Regions from separate parts of the Homo sapiens genome. Here all the other regions are linked to region 3. Evidence: promoter capture Hi-C in human tissues and cell types (Jung and others, 2019). All regions are on one chromosome and are shown on one strand. Each heading gives the region's core, a stretch centred on a gene start or on the middle of the fragment in contact. The rest is flanking DNA. Distances are from core to core; before and after follow the strand shown. Region 1 has its middle 65 kb from the start of LINC01621. Region 2 has its middle 56 kb from the start of HTR1B. Region 3 holds the start of IRAK1BP1 (interleukin 1 receptor associated kinase 1 binding protein 1).

Region 1 (2,700 bases), core at 102-2,601, 1.0 Mb before region 3:
TTCGCTCTCCTCACCTTAAGCAGAAGGAAGGAGACACATTTGTTGCTGTGAGCTGTTTTGCCTCAGGTTGAGGGAGGACTGGCGCAAGCATTCCCTTAGCTACTCCAGCTGGTGTCTCTCTAGGTCACATGCCACCCCAGTCCTCTGGCTCTAAGCCCAGCCCAGCACTAGGAGTTGCCTAGGAATTGCAGTCCCTGTGTCCTAGACTGTCTTTCAAGTTTACCTAGAGCCCCAGAACCCTCTGGCCTGCTGTGGTGAGGCTTGCCAAGAAATTTGAGTTCTGACTTATGGAATGTGTGATTCCCCTCTGACTAGGTCTGCTCCAAATGCACCTTCCATGTGCAGTCAGTGGCTGAACCTAGCATGGCTTTGCTTTCTGCTATGACAGGTCAGCACTGAGTTCAGGGTAAAGTACGCCAGTCACTGCACTCTCTCTCTCTCCGAAGTGCATAGACTCTGTGCTACACGGCCACTGCCAGGGCTGGAGGAGGAATGATGTCGGCAACTCAAGGCTGTCTCTTCAACCCTTTTCAATGCCTCTGTCAACAACATGAAGTTAAAACCAGGTACTGTGATTGCTCACCTGATTTTTGGTTCTTGTGATGGTGCTTTTCTGTGTGTAGACAGTTGTGAAAATTTGGCATACCTGCAGGGGGTACATATGTTGCAGGTTTCTATTCTACCATCTTACTCTGCCTCCCAGCCCCGTCTCTTAATACCATCACAATGACAACTAAATTTCAACATGAGATGTGGAGGGAGCATTCAAACCATGTCAGATGGCAATAGAGAGAAAATATCTTGCTAACATTGTCTTGGATCAAACTGTGACTGAAGTCAACTGCACTCTGGCCATACCAGTTATGTAATACAATGATTCCCTTTCCTAACTTCAAACTTTTCTGTCACTTGCCACCAAAAGTTAGCTAAATAATAAATTGATTTTATACATGTGAGCATGAGAATGTTCAAGTATCATGCAAAAAGCATAAAGGTCTTAGGGGAAACTGTGTCCTTATTCATTATCTTTTACTAAGATTTAACACTGGGCTGAGAACCAGGGTCATTCATTTATTACCAAGGGCCATTCTAATAGAAACAATTGGTGACCTGGCATTCCCACGAGTTTGAAATAGCATAGTCCAAATATGTTAGTGTATACATGTGTGCACATGCATGTGTATATGTGTGTACCTCAATTTTGAAACAGTCCTGGAAAGTCTATTACAGTGGAAAGGTAAGGGGATGTCTAAGTTTGAAATGAGGGGTAGAAGCATATTTAACAATTTGCCTTGCGCCTAGTATGACTGGAATATAAACTCTAAAAAGGATTTCTTTTAATTATGCTGAAATTGCTTACTGTCAAGCAACAAGTTCCCCCCCGGAGATAAATCTTAAAGCCTTAAGCTACTCTCACTCTTAAAACAGGTTTATAATTTATTCCTTTCATTCTTAGGCCTCCTTACCTCCCCTTTACCAGCTACCAACAAGTTGCTTCCTTTCGGATGCCTTTTCCTAGGGTCCTTTGGAATTCCTCAAGTTTTTTTCCAGCCTGCTGTTTCCAACGCAAACACACAAACTCTTTTCTTCCTGCAGGAGTTTTTTGTAGTAGGTTTTCTTATAGACTATAAGAAAGTAGGTGAAAAAGCACAGAAAACATTGGGTTGGTTCCTGCAAAACCATGGGAACTCTCAACAAGCATAAACAGCATCAGTTTCTCCACTTCACTGGCATGTGGGCAGAATTGGCTGGCTGTGTCCTAGCTTCTTCCTTATCTTCTTTTCTGGATGGTCCCTTTACCCTCATTTCACAACTCTTCCATGTCTAAGGCGGGGATGTGATATCATTTTCCCTCCTTCCTCAATGAGCACCAGGTCTTTCCAGATGATTGTGTGCTCTGCTTTGGACCCCGAGATCTGCATGGTGCCTCAGAGCTTACTCTCAAAAGGGGCCCATCCTGGAGGTGTCTGATGTCTAAGTGCTCTTTGCTATCCAAAGGAAAAGAAGCCCAGTTACTCCCTGACATATATAGGAAAACCATTGCCTTTCTTTCCAGGTAGCAAAAATACTGTTATGCTCCTTTGGAGATGGGGATTTTTAACCTCCATTTGTCTCTGCTTCTAAATTTCCAAAATAATAGTACTGACATTAGATCATTTTTGTGAGGATTAAATGAGTTAATTTAGATAGCATGCCTATCCTGTGTGCTCTCTCTAGGCTAGCTCCTCTGTTATTTTAGTGTCTTCTTTTCTTCCAGGGAAGTATGAATTAAAAAGCATTGTTTCAGATTTCCTTTTCTGGCTATGAGTTTCTAAAACAAAGATTTTTTTTCTTCTTTTTTCTTCTCTCCTCTGTATTCTTTCCTCTTGACCTGACTCTGTATCCTTTCCCCTTGACCTGACTCTAGATTGTGCTGGCAATAGAGTTGTCCACACCCAAAAGGCTCTCCTCCTCACCTATTAATAAGGCTTCCATTGTGCACCATAAGAATGTTTTTATTAGTATAAGTAGTATCCTCAAAGGTATTTAACTATCAAAGCTATCAAAACTGCAAATGAATCATTTATTTGTGTGACCAATATGTGCAGAAATGCTTGCAGAGAAAAGACTAATCTACAAGGAAATTTAAATGACACCACCACTCCTTTTACTGGGGAAAAGACATTTTGGTTTCTGGTGCTAGTTGTTGTATTACAAATT
Region 2 (2,700 bases), core at 134-2,633, 1.3 Mb after region 3:
TCATTATGATGCTAGCTGGTTATTTTGCCCATTAGTTGATGCAGTTTCTTCATAGTGTCGATGGTCTTTATATTTTGGTTTGTTTATATAGTGGCTGGAATCAGTTTTTCCTTTTCATATTTAGTGCTTTTTTCAAGAGCTCTTCTAAGGCAGGCCTGGTGGTGACCAAATCCTCAGCATTTGTTTGTCTGTAAAGGATTTTATTTCTCCTTCATTTATGAAGTTTAGTTTGGCTGGATATGGAATTCTGGGTTGAAAACTCTTTGCTTTAAGAATGTTGAATATTGATCCCCACTCTCTTCTGGCTTGTAGGGTTTCTGCAGAGAGATCCACTGTTAGTCTGGTGGGCTTCCCTTTGGGGGTAACCTGACCCTTCTCTCTGGTTGACTTTAACATTTTTTCCTTCATTTCAACCTTGGTGAATCTGACGATTATGTGTCTTAGAGTTGCTCTTCTCGAGGAGTATCTTTGTGGTGTTCTCTGTATTTCCTGAATTTGAATGTTGGCCTGTCTTGCTAGGTTAGGGAAGCTCTCCTGGATAATATCCTGAAGTGTGTTTTCCAACTTGGTTCCATTCTCCCCATCAATTTGAGGTACATCAATCAAACATAGGTTTGGTCTTTTTACATAGTCTCATATTTCTTGGAGGCTTTGTTTGTTTCCTTTCATTCTTTTTTCTCTAATCTTGTCTTCACACTTTATTTCATTAAGTTGATCTTCCGTCTCTGATAGCTCTTCTTCTGCTTGATTGATTTGGCTATTGATACTTGTGTATGCTTCATGAAGTTCTTGTGCTGAGTTTTTCAGCTCCATCAGGTCATTTATATTCTTCTCTAAACTGGTTAATCTAGTTAGCAATTCCTCTAACCTTTAATCAAGTTTCTTAGCTTCCTTGCATTGGATTAGAGCATGCTCTTTTGCTCGGAGGAGTCTGTTATTACCCACTTTCTGAAGCCTACTTCTGTTAATTCATCAAACTCATTCTCCATCCAGTTTTCTTCCCTTGCCAGTAAGGATTTATAATCCTTTGGAGGAGAAGAGGTGTTATGGTTTCTGGAATTTTCAGCCTTTTTGTGCTGGTTTTTCCTCATCTTCATGGATTTATCTACCTTTGGTCTTTGCTGTTGGTGACCTTTCGATGGAGTTTTTGCATGGTCTCCTTTTTGTTGATGTCGATGCTACTGCTGTAGCAAAGGCTGCAGAACAGCAAAGACTGCTGCTTGCTCCTTCCTCTGGAAGCTTTGTCCCAGAGGGGCACCTGCCAGATGCCAGCCAGAGCTTTCCTGTATAAGGTGATTGTTGACCCCTGTTGGGAGGTGTTTTCCTGTCAGGATGTACGGGGATCAGGGACCAACTTGAGGAGGCAGTCTGTCCCTTAGCTGAGCTCGAGTACTGTGCTGGGAGATCTGCTGCTCTCTTCAGAGATGGCAGGCAGGAACGTTTAAGTCTGCTGAAGCTGCACCCACAGCTGCCCCTTCCCCCAGGTGCTCTTTTTTCATCCCCAGGGAGATGAAAGTTTTGTCTATAAGCTGCTGACTGGGGCTGCTGCCTTTCTTTCAGAGATGTCCTGCGCGGAAAGGAGGAATCTAGAGAGCCAGTCCGGCTACCATGACTTTGTGGTGTGGTGGTGGGCTCTGCTCAGTCAAAACTTCCAAGTGGCTTTGTTTACACTGTGAGGGGAAAACTGCCTACTCAAGCCTCAATAATGGCAGACACCCCCACAACCCCCGACCAAGCTTGAGCATTTCAGGTTAACTTCAGACTGCTGCGCTGGCAGCGAGAATTTCAAGCCAGTGGATGTTAGCTTGCTGGGCTCCATAGGGGTGGGCTCCATGGAACAAGACCACTTGTCTCCTTAGCTTCAGCCCCCTTTCCAGGGGAGTGAATAGTTCTCTCTTGCTGGCATTCCAGGTGCCACTGGGGTATGAGAAAAACTCCTGCAGCTAGCTCGGTGTCTGCCCAAACAGCTGCCCAGGTTTTTGCTTGAAACCCAAGGCCATTGTGATGTAGGCACCCAAGGGAATATCCTGGCCTGTGGGTTGTGAAGACAGTGGGAAAAGCATAGTATCTGGGCCAGATAGCACTGTCTCTTTCAGCACAGTCCCTCACTGCTTCCCTTGGCTATGAGAAGGAGTTCCCTGACCCCTTGTGCTTCCCGGGTGAGGAGACACACCACCCTGCTTCTGCTCACCCTCTGTGGTCTGTACCCACTGTCTAACCAGTCCCAGTGAGAAGAACCAGTTACCTCAGTTGGAAATGCAGAAATCACCCACCTTCTGCATTGGTCTCGCTGGGAGCTGCAGACTGGAGCTGTTCCTATTCGGCCATCTTGCCAGGGAATCCATGTCATGTTATTGAAATAAATTGTTCTCTGTTTATCCCTCTAGACCAAGGGCCTTGAGGGTTTTGTATGAAGTACATAGAACAGTTCTTGGGACATAAACACCTAAGAAATATTTGTACAAGCTTATTGGAATAAACTGAGGATGGATGATGCTATTAACAGAGAAAAGCAGGATGCGTTGGTGGGGAAGGTGAGAGTAGGGGGCAAATAATCAGTTCATTGGATTGGGACATGGTAATTCTAAGTCTCAGGGGACATTCTGAGAGAAGGATTGCATAGGCAGTTGTTGATAGGAGACTAGTGCTTGAAACAAGGTCAATGTCATTGGTTTAAAGGTCATCAGCCAGTAATACCAT
Region 3 (2,700 bases), core at 150-2,649:
TCGGGGTATGGAATTTCTTGCAATAGACTGGAAGTAACAATGCCTGCACTTTTACCAACTCAATGTCATCCTGGATAAGTTACATCTCTGGCCTTTGGGGTCCTACTCTATAAAATGAGAAAACTGAAATCGTTGATCCCTATGATTTCTAATTTTCTTTCATTCTAATTATCGGCAGAATTGGAAGCAACTTACATTCTGGTTTCAGGAATACATGAGTTCAAATATTGCTCTACCTAAAGTTCAGAGCATTGTTTAACCTCTTTAAATTTGGAAAACAGGGATATTAAAACATGCCTAACAGTGCTATTGTGTGGATTAAATGATGGCTTCATTTTTTTTCTTGCCTTAGGAGTAGGCTTAAGGTAAGATTTGTTTAGTGATTTGTCTCATGGACATCTCCGTTAAGTAAGTAGAAGTATTTCGTATATGTGGTATCCACAATACTGGCTTGATTTTTTCTTTTAAGTTAAACCTAAGAAGGCCGAAGAAATTTTGGGGGAATCACTATAAAATGAAAATCATTATAAAATGAAAATGGACGCAACTTCTTCCCCACTTCCCAACGTTACTGTTTGCGGAACATACTCAAGAACCATTCCATGCAAAGTTTTACATGATCGGAAGGAAGCAGGTCGTGCTCTTCACTTGCCAATTCCATGGTGCGGAATAAAAACAAAACAAAACAAAATATTTAGTGTCCAGCACTCCACGTGGGCAAGTATTTACAACTAACATTTCAAGTTTTAACATTTCATCACTTTAAATTTAAAAACAAAATCACTGAAGCAAATATCCCCAGATAAAAACCTACCCAATTTGCATTCTTTTATTTTTAATTTGCCTGAGGCCAATAATTACCTTCGTCTAGGAGAAGAATGGGTCAAATATTCACTCTGCCAGGTCCTGGCGTCCCGGAGTACCTTTGCAACAAACGCGTCCTAAACGCTCCAGACCCTCCACATCTCCCTTCCCGCTAGGGGGGCCTGTGGGGCCCGACCATCTGCCAACCCTTTTGTGTCTTCCGGCTCTTATTTCCTCCCCCGCGGAGATCTCACCTGCACGCCCTGCTGCTGGAGGCTCTGCGTGATGTAATCTAGACGGCGACAAACGCTCTTTTTGGCCTCGGCTGCCGCCTCCTTGGTGCTGCTCACTCGCACCACCACCTGCGCCCGGTCAGGGCCCGCAGACACTTCTGAGGTGCCGCTTACTTGCACCTCGCGGGTAGCAGTTTGGGCTTGTGTTGAGGAGAGGGGGTGGCGTAAGCCCGGTAGCGTCTCTCTCCCTGAGGCCAGGTTGTTCTCCCGGCTCCGGTCAGCCCAGGGAACCAGTTCCACGAACACTCGGGTCGGAGGGGTCTTTTGCAGAGACATAGCGATGGCAGCTGGGTTTCCATAGTAACTACCGGCCGACGGCGGCCGAAGGGGCCAATGCGCACCAGGGCTTGCCTGTGCACGGCGCAAAGTATGCCGGGATGGGTGTGGAGGCCGCGGAACTTCTGGCGGGCGCAAGCTATATGCCTTGTTGATCTTGCCGCATCTTTTTTACTAGATGTCGGCTGAGTGAGTAGCTACAGTTTTTAACATGTTTAACTTACGGCCTTCAAAAATTGTTAGCGGACTTTCTCTGTTGCCTCCTCAGTGAGCTCTGCCCTTTCTCGCAACTCCTTGTCGTCCCACCGCGCCTCTGCACCTCAGAGGAAGGAGAAGAGTAGCGAGGCCGAGCGGGTTTTTAGATTTCTCTGTGATTACCCCCAGCCTTGTCTTTTCTGACTTTACCGTCCCCGCTTGGGGTACTGCTTTTTGAGGCTCCCTCGGCCACATTTTTGTGGTTCGTGAGAGGTTTCAGTTGAGGTGAACTTTTTGCCCCTGTGATCTTGGACAGTTTATGATTCTTCATATCTCAGTATCATCTTCTCTAAAGCAGGGTTGATAATATTTTTTATATTAGTAATATATAATATATTCTAATATATATAATATATTCTAATATATAATATATTCTAATATATATAATATATTAATATTATCAAAGCAATGTTGATAATATTTTTCACATTTGCTATGTGCTTATAAGGCGCCCATTGTATGTAGAGTGCGTTGCATATGGAAAGCAGAGTGAACATAATGGATGTTTGTAATGATAGCTATGGCTTTGGCATCATTTTTGTGTCTCCCCATTTTTTTCTAAAATCCCTGGAATGGTTCGGGCCTTGAATTCCGACAGAAGAGATTTAGGTGGTAGCAAAGCACGTCCAACATGGAGTTTGCTGGGCCTGCACAACTTGGAGCTTCTCTGTACCCTTTTCTTCAGAGAACTTTTAGAACACAACCCTCAACTTCCCGTCTTCTGGATTCTCTTCCTAGCACTAAGCAATGATCTTTGTAAAAATAGCCCCACTGACTTATACGTCTTTACTATCTGAATTTTATCAAGAGAATCGAGGGGGGAAAAAAGAATTTTGAATAACTAGTTCTAGAAGGACAAGAACTGTTCTTTTAAAAGGACCCTGAAAAGCTGACAGTCCTCTTGTAGTTTCTTCACCATCGTTTTTTCTGTTCTTTTCGATTAGTATAATTCAACTAAATCAATGGTACCCCCCTCCTTTAATTAGGCTCATCACTAGATTAACATAATTTTGTGTATATCCATCTTGTTTATTGTTAGCTGAAAACAATTTTAATTTAAAAACTAACGTTA

The links. Contacts are between HindIII fragments. The study calls those that stand out against the background at their distance.
Region 1: a contact is called between a fragment that was not itself captured here and the fragment with the promoter of IRAK1BP1 in region 3, in 1 of the 25 tissues and cell types used here (dorsolateral prefrontal cortex).
Region 2: a fragment that was not itself captured here is called in contact with the fragment with the promoter of IRAK1BP1 in region 3 in 1 of the 25 tissues and cell types used here (dorsolateral prefrontal cortex).

Annotation. Positions count from the first base shown.
Region 1 is chr6:79,876,030-79,878,729 of GRCh38, reverse strand. No RefSeq gene overlaps it. Among named protein-coding and RNA genes, the nearest start is that of LINC01621, 65 kb to the right of the region's middle. The HindIII fragment of the contact is 7,172 bases long and covers 1-2,700 here.
Region 2 is chr6:77,517,852-77,520,551 of GRCh38, reverse strand. No RefSeq gene overlaps it. Among named protein-coding and RNA genes, the nearest start is that of HTR1B, 56 kb to the right of the region's middle. The HindIII fragment of the contact is 3,192 bases long and covers 1-2,700 here.
Region 3 is chr6:78,866,250-78,868,949 of GRCh38, reverse strand. IRAK1BP1 (interleukin 1 receptor associated kinase 1 binding protein 1) reads right to left here and starts at 1,399. Exons shown (of 4, transcript NM_001010844.4): 1 at 1,059-1,399. The coding sequence starts at 1,373. LOC107986613 (a long non-coding RNA gene) reads left to right here and starts at 1,460. Exons shown (of 2, transcript XR_001744210.2): 1 at 1,460-1,562. RefSeq lists enhancers at 612-1,212, 1,045-1,364, 1,395-1,504. The HindIII fragment of the contact is 12,955 bases long and covers 1-2,700 here.